Linked DNA regions of Homo sapiens: region 1 is linked to region 2. Evidence: promoter capture Hi-C in human tissues and cell types (Jung and others, 2019). All regions are on one chromosome and are shown on one strand. The core of a region is centred on a gene start or on the middle of the fragment in contact, and the rest is flanking DNA. Distances in the headings are between cores, read along the strand shown. Region 1 overlaps LOC101928306 (a long non-coding RNA gene). Region 2 holds the start of EVC2 (EvC ciliary complex subunit 2).

Region 1 (3,821 bases), core at 233-2,732, 720 kb after region 2:
GAGGCTGGAGTCTGTCTCAAAAAAAAAAAAAAAAGAAAAAAGGAAAAAAAAAACAGCACGCACGGAAGCGAGAGCTGTCCAGGGGTGTCCAGGAATGAAATTGGCTGGCCTGGGCATAGGAGTAAGCCCCTCATCCCAGGAGCCACCAAGGAGAGACAATGTTACCTCTTGGGAAGAAAGTAGAGGGCATATCTGCATTTGAGGTTGGACAAAGTGACCTTTAGTCATCCTCCCAAAACTGCAGATTCACAAATCTGTGAATGAAATGTCCCGAGAAGGGAGCCGTGAGAAGGCCCTGAGAAGCAGCCACCCGCCCCTGCCCGGATTCCCACTCCCGTCAGGAGACACCTAAACCGAGAGAGCCAGCAGGCTTGAGGAGCCCGTGTCCACTGCCCCACTCCACAGACGGGAGCACAGAGAGTGGAGGCAGGATGGACTCACACAGCCTCACATATCTCACTCCTGCTCACTCCTGCCCAGTGGGCCGAATTCAAGACCCCTAAACGCCTCCGCTCACTCTGTTTCCTTATATTTCACTTGTGATTTTTTAAAAGGTCAGTTTATTTCCTATGATCTGCAAGAAGGCAACTGGTATGTGAAAGGGTGAGTGTGGGTGGCTGTTTCCAGTTAAACAAGAGAAAGTTTTTCTAACTGTGTCAAAACTGTGGAGGAGAGACTGGCTAGGCTTCATTAGGATCAGCCCGCGGCGCCCAGGCGCGGCTTAGTCACTGTGGCTTCCTCACTCCTCAACACTTAACCAGCATCTTTGGTCCCCCACCCCCAACCCTGACAAATCTTTAGGCTCTGCCTGGGGCTTGGTGGCAGCCGTCCGAGGTTCTCCAGCCCTTGACAAAGGTCAGTCTGTAGGCCCATCACAGCCAGAGAGCATGGAGGCTGTGCTCGGGCCCTGCTGACTCATGTGGCTGACAGCCAGCGATCCAAGGCTCCACGGGCACTGCTTTGCATCACAGGGTGTCAAGCCAGTGGCAGGGACCCACCCAGGCCAGCCAGTCTCCACTCCCAAATCCAACCCAACCCCGCCCTGCTGCAGGGCTCTCAGCCTTGGGCACTGGGGGCGTCTGGGGCCACCTAGTCCTTTGTCGGTGGTGGGGCTTTGCACTGTGGGGTGTTTAGCCACAGACCCGGCCTCCACCCACAGGATGTCAGCAGCATCACCAGATGATGGCCCAGTCATGACAGCCAAAAACGCCCCAGACATGGCCAAATCAGGGCCCAAATCAGCCCTGTGTTGAGAAGCTCTGAGCTACAGCCAACAGCATCCTCCCTCTTTGTCTTGTTTCCAAAATATTCTTGTGAGGTTCTACAGGAAAAAAGAAAAAAAATGCCTAAGTTTTTATGTCGGGATGTGGACAAGAATGGGAGGCCACAAGCCCTGGCTTGACCCCATGGAGGTCGAGGGTGTTTTACACAGGGCCATCACACATGGACATCACCTTGCTGGCACCTAGAGGCATTGACTGTGCCATCCCTAACCCAATCCAGCCCTCTCCTATCATGGAGGAAGAAAGTGCAGCCCAGAGAGGTTAAGCAACCAGCTGGAAGTCACACAGCAGGCTTAGTCATCTAACCCCCTATCCAGTGCTCTTTCACCACCCTACACCAAGCCTGGATCCAGCCAGCACTCACCAGGAGGCTAAAACTTTGCGGAGGCAAAACATCCCCTTCCAACAGGAACTCAAGACAAGGGCAGAACCTCATTTTCATGTTACAATGCTGTGAAAATGTGCAAAGTAAAATGTGGTAAAAACATGGGTTGGGGCCAAAGCGGTGGAATGAGAAAATACTGCTTGCCATGTGAGCCGGCTAATAAAAGGAAGAGCCCAGAATTGTTTGTTGCGATTATAAGGGTCATTTTTTCCCCCTATAAAAAAGAGTAATTTTCATTTACAGGGACCCCGGGCAATTTTCCATCTAATTTGATGTTTTATAATGTCTGCAGAGCCACACAACCTCAGTAGGCTGTGGGGGCCATAGACGTTTTATTTTCAGATGTTCAAGGTTATTGGTTCATCAAGAGCAAAGGGAAAATGTGACCCGGTTTTCATGAGTCCTGTTAAGAAAGAGGGCAGGGGATGGTCTGGGTGGGTGGAAATGAATTTGCTGTGAAGCCCCCAACCCTCAGTTGAGTGCCACCCCCACTCCATTAGCACCCAGAACACCAGGCTGGTAAGGCTGGGGCAGAGTCATTGCCCCAGGTGAGGAAGCTGAAGACGACACCCTGCCTCCAGTCCAGAGCACTGCGCCACCCGGCTGACCTGCCTGCACATACATGGCCCACCCGGTTCTCCTGTTAGGAGTTTTATGTATGTTTCTCGTTTAATCATCACAGAGGCCCATGGAGTGTGGGGACTGTTATTATCTCTGGTTTACAGATGAGGAAACTGGGCTTAGAGAACTTAGCTACTGGCTTGAGGCCGCCCGAACAGGAGCTAAGAGTTCTAAATCTAACTACTCTTTCTACACCGTGGCATAATCCTCTCACCGCCACTGTCATACTAGATCCTTCCTGCTCACCCAGGCCCCACCTCTTTTGGCTTCACAAGATGGGTGCATGGTAGGGGGTGTGGGATACAGAGGGTGAAGGAGACGCAGTCTTTACCCTTAGTGCTTACAGGATCGTTGGAGACTTGAGACAGCCATCCAAAACCAATCCCAATGCACAGTGCATCATGCAGGGCCTCAGTTTCCTTTTCTGTAAAATGGGCATGACACCACTGATTTGACGGCAAGGTTAGGAGGCTTCGATGAGATAACACCATTGGGAAAAAACTTGGTCTTGATAACAAGGATTGCTCCTGTCTTGCTGAGACAGCAAAAGAAAGAAGGAATTATGGGAGTAAGGACTAGAGACGGAAGGTGAGAAAAGACGGAGCGAGGAGGAATCAGGAATGGAAGCAGAGAAGCACAAGGACAGCTGAGAGAAGAGCACAAGGTAGGGTGCCCATGGCTGGGCTTTTACTGCGCACTCAGTGTGTACCAGGCCTCGGGCTGGGTGCTTTACGTGCATAAAGCCATTCAATTTCCAACAGGGAGAGTGGAGGCGATTATTTCTACTTTACAGAGGAACCCTCTACTGCGTGACATGGGCATGGACCACAACCCAAAGGTTGTTGTGACAGAGCTCTCAACCCAACCTGGGGACCTGGAGGGATCACCGTGGGACAAAAAGGCAATCAAATTCCCAGCTCCTGGAACAGGCCCGTTCCTTCTTAAGATCTCTGTTCTTCCAGGACCATCTCTGTGCCCAGTAACACAGACTCGGTAGAAAGCAGGGAGGGACCGTAGTAAATGCAAATGTTTTTGTTTTACACAATACCTGTTCTTATAGAAATAGAGAAGACCACAGATGAGCTGGGAGAAAAGGAAAACCTCCTGAATCCCAATCCTTAGACACTGATGCATACATTTCCAATATTTATACCAAATGGGATCATAATGCATCTTGTATTTTGCAAGTTCTTTTTGAACTTTATTATAATGGACAGCTTTCCACATCATTAATATTCTTGTACAGCACTGAAATGACAAGCACTGTTCAGCCGTTGTAGAATGTTGTCTAACAATTTCCCAATTCAGCAGGCCTCCTTCACCCACTTTTGCCTTCCTTATGTCAGTTATCCACGATCAACTGAGCTCTGGAAGTAGATGAGTACAGTACAATAAGATATTTTGAAAGAGAAAGAGACCATATTCACATAACTTTTATTATAATAGATTGTTATAATTGTTATTACAGTAGATTGTTGTAATAACAGTAGATTGTTATAATTGTTCTTATATTACAGTAGATTGTTATGATT
Region 2 (3,898 bases), core at 454-2,953:
GGGCCGGGCTAGGGGACACCATGGGGATCTGCTTCAGCAGAGGAGGGCTTTGTCCTTTCAGCCTAGATGTCCAGCTTGTTTCTAGTTTGTTTCATCATTTCCTCATGGCAAGATGGGAACTGTTATCCAAATTCTTCATCTTTTTTTAATAAATGAAGAAACTGACAGCTGGAGAGGAGAGGTGACTCATTTGCAATTAAGGAGTGGGGCAGAATTCTTGTCTCATTTACACCTGTGTCTGGCTTCAGGGCAAACTCTCTGCTATGTGGAGCTTCTTATATATTACCTTAGAAGCATCTCCAAGGTTCCTGGGGACATGTATGGGGGCAATAACTTGACGCTCTTGTTTTACATTTCCATGAATGCTTAGGCTTTAGTTTTTAAAATGTGGTGTTTGGGCCAGGTGTGGTTGCTCACGCCTGTAATCCCAGCACTTTGGGAGGCTCAAGTGGAGGATTGTCTGAGCCCAGGAGTTTAAGACCAGTCTTGGCAACATAGTGAGACCCTGACTCCATAAAAAATACTAAGGAGATTTTTTAAATGTAGGGTTATTTGCTTTTTACTTTATCATAAAGTTGTTGACTATTAAATTAACCTTTAAATGACTGACTGTCAAACAACTCCAACGGTCCAGCAACATGCTTGGCATTTAGCCTGTGGTCTTGTCACATGCCTGACAGCTGCCACGTACCCCCTGGTGTGGGGAACTTGGCTTATAAATTCTCAGCTTCTCGAACCCCATGGCCTTGTCCATGTTAGGTCAGGAAAGGCCTGTCCTTGGATGGTCTGGGTTATGGGGAGAGAGGCTGCCAGGGGCCAGGCTCGCTGGCCTGAGACTTTATAGACAGCCTAACAGCCTGCCCCGCAGGAAGGCTGGCGGGAGTGGAGCCCTCCCCCGTCAACAGGTGTCAGCTGTCACCCAGGACCTAGGCAGGGATGAGGAAGCACACAAAAGGCTCCACCAGTCCCCCTTTTTGTGTCTTTCTCCTCCTCCTCCTCCTGCGTCCCTTGGCAAAGCAAATCCCTGTCCCCTCGGAGAGTTCAGGGAGAGCTTGCTTAGGGCTGCGACTTCAGACACCAGCTCCCCTCTTTCTAGGTCCCCAGAGAGGTGGCCCAGCGGCTGGCCTGTTTCCCACTGGGAATGCGAGGGGCACCCGGGCCGGCCCAGGGCTGACCCACAGCAGGCTCGGGCAGTGGGTGCTCAGCTGGTCTGCACTGAACGCAACCGGAAGTGAGGGTCCTTTTCCTTCTCTGCGGCCACCCCCTCCTCCCCGAGCTTTCCTGAACCTTCTGGGTGCTCCAGGACTCCCGGCCCCGCGCTCCAAATGCTTCTCCGTTTTCTAAGCGGGGATGGGGAAACTCTGGATTCACATCCGTGTGTCAGGAAACCGTTCCCAGGGGAAGTGCGTCTGAGCTGAGGCTTACAGACCCAGGTAGGCGGTAGCGGAGGGGCCCTTGGGGTCCTGGTAACCTCGGGGAGCAGGGGAGTGACCCGCTCTGATTCGGTTTGGGCGCAAGCAAACCCAGGCCTGGCCGCCGGGCGCCTGGGCCGCGCCAACTCGCTCTCCCCCTCCCACGCCCGTCCGGCACCTCCTGGCCCGCCAAGCCCCAGATGCGGGTGTTTGTTCCAGAAAACTTTCGGCGGCGGCTCGCACTGAGCATGCTCGGCGGCGGGGCGGGCCTGGGGTCCGGAAGCTCCAGCGACTCGGCGGCACCCGCCGCTTTGAGGTAGCGGGTCCCGACAGGCGATGGACCCCTCGGGCTCCCGGGGGCGCCCCACGTGGGTGCTGGCCGGGGGTCTCCTGGCAGTGGCCCTGGCGCTGGGGGGCCGAGGCTGTCTCGGCGCCAGCTCACGTCCCCGCTGGCGCCCCCTCGGCGCGCAGCCACCCCGGGATCCCCAGGTGGCTCCTAGGTCTGGGCCCGGCCTGAGGATCCCTCCGGGGCGGAGCGGGGCGGGGCCCGAGAGCAGCACGCAGGTAAGGAGGGCCCGACCCCAGGCTCCGGTCTGACTGTAGTGGTTTGACTTTGTCTACACCGGCGGTGGCAGGGAGGACCCTTAGTATTTCGCAAAGAATGAGGAAGGGAGGGCAGGATCTGAATAGGGTGCTTCGCGGCCCTTAGGTGTATCCCGCTCACGGCCAGAAAGCTTCGAGGGAAACTGGAGACCTTCCTCGGGGTGTGGCAGCTGCCGGCTTGGACTTCACCAGCGACCCTGGTTCGAATCCTGCTCTCCATTTTACGAGCTTCGACCTAGGGCAGTTCACTCCTGTGCCCCAGTTTCCTGATCGTTGAAACGGGGCCGTCGCGGCGTCCACCCCAGAGGGTGGAAGTGGGTTAGATGAGCTCACATATGCAGAGCCCCTTGCAGAGGCCAGCACTGGGAAATTGCAGCGGTTTTTAAAAGTGGGGGCTCTTGGCTGGACTCTTAGGTGACTGAACTCTCCTGGCTGATGGATTTAGCCACTTCCTACTTCACCCTGGCCCTCCCTCTGTGGTCCTAAACTCGAAAGGCATGGATCCCTGGCTGTAGCCCTAGACTTGACCTCCCCCGACAAAGCTGGTCACCAGTCCTAGTGCCTTTTCCTCCAAATCAGCTCGGATGTCTGCCCCTCCTCACTCCCCACTGCCACTCCCTGGCTTCAGGTCCCACCACTTCACTTCCAGCCCTTGGTGATGGTTTTCCCACGTCTCCCATCCATTTTCCCCCAGACCTCTGGGGTGGTCTGTCCTGGTAGACATTCTGCCACTCCTGTCCCATGCTGGCACTCTTCTCTCCACCTTATTGCCCCTGACAGCACACCCAGGCTCCTATTCCCAGGACTGCCCTGGCCAATGGTCTGGCCCATTGATGCTGCCCTGAGGTCCTCCCACCTCTCTCCTAGGGTGGTGGGTCGTGTCCTGCTGTGTTCTCTACCCCAGGACACTTGCGACACTGGCAGAGGTTTAGTCTCTTAAAAGAGACCCTGCTCCCTTTCTGTCTTTAGGTTTTCACTGGAAAAACGCCATGTCAGTGTCCTGAGCTTTCAAAAGTCCAATGACAGAACATGTTCCCTGGGTCCTTTCACTTGCATCTGCCCTGTGAGATGGGAGTATCTGGCCCGTTTTGCAGGTGACAAAACCAAGGCTCAGGGAGCCGCGTCCCCAGGCCTGTCCTGTACTCTCTCTCTGGCCCCCGAGTTCAGAGCCTGCGTGCCTGGCCTCACCTGCTTTGCACAAGCTCTTCCTTCTGGGAAGCCAGTGTCAGAAATCCTGGTGCACATTGGCCTCTGTCAGCCACAGTGGTGTTGAGGGTGGTCCCTGCCAGAAGGGAGGGACGGTGCCTACTGGGAAGGGCCTGAAGCCATCTAGGACCATGGTGGGTGTAGAGTACCTCACCCTCAAGGGCAACCCCTGCCTTTGCAGGAATCTGGGAATGAGCACCTGTATTCAGGTGCCCTTGGCATCTTGAGCACGTCCCCTGGGCCCTGGCCCTGCCCACGCCCATCCCAGCTGTTGATGGGACCAGCCTTCTTCCGTCTCTCTGGGCCTGTCTTGCATAGCCCTTCTGCACACTGTACAGGAAAGAGCTCTGGCCATGTGTGTCCCTGCCTTGGCCACTCCCTCTTGTGGGGCCTGGGACAAGTCACAGCCCTCAGGGTCTCTGCTTCCTCTTCTGAGCAATGGTGTAAGGGCTGTTCCCAGAGCACAGTTCCCGAAGGCACAGGTTAGTTCTTCCTATTGTAATTATATGATGCCTTCATGTAATTACTTGATACCATCTATCCATCCATTCATTCAATATTATCTATGTATGTATGTATGTATGTATGTATGTATCTATCTATCTATCTATGTATCTATCTATCTATGTATCTATCTATCTATCTATGTATCTATCTATGTATCTATCTATGTATCT

The links. The method cuts DNA at HindIII sites, captures the fragments that hold promoters and counts their contacts. A contact is called where the count stands out against the background at its distance.
Region 1: a contact is called between a fragment that was not itself captured here and the fragment with the promoter of EVC2 in region 2, in 1 of the 25 tissues and cell types used here (dorsolateral prefrontal cortex).

The regions. Positions count from the first base shown.
Region 1 is chr4:4,988,317-4,992,137 of GRCh38, reverse strand. It overlaps LOC101928306 (a long non-coding RNA gene), which reads right to left. Exons shown (of 3, transcript NR_125893.1): 3 at 3,467-3,656. Among named protein-coding and RNA genes, the nearest start is that of CYTL1, 29 kb to the left of the region's middle. The HindIII fragment of the contact is 6,109 bases long and covers 1-3,821 here.
Region 2 is chr4:5,706,364-5,710,261 of GRCh38, reverse strand. It overlaps EVC2 (EvC ciliary complex subunit 2), which reads left to right and starts at 1,703. Exons shown (of 22, transcript NM_147127.5): 1 at 1,703-1,976. The coding sequence starts at 1,749. RefSeq lists silencers at 1,614-1,663, 1,704-2,083 and an enhancer at 1,144-1,763. The HindIII fragment of the contact is 11,868 bases long and covers 1-3,898 here.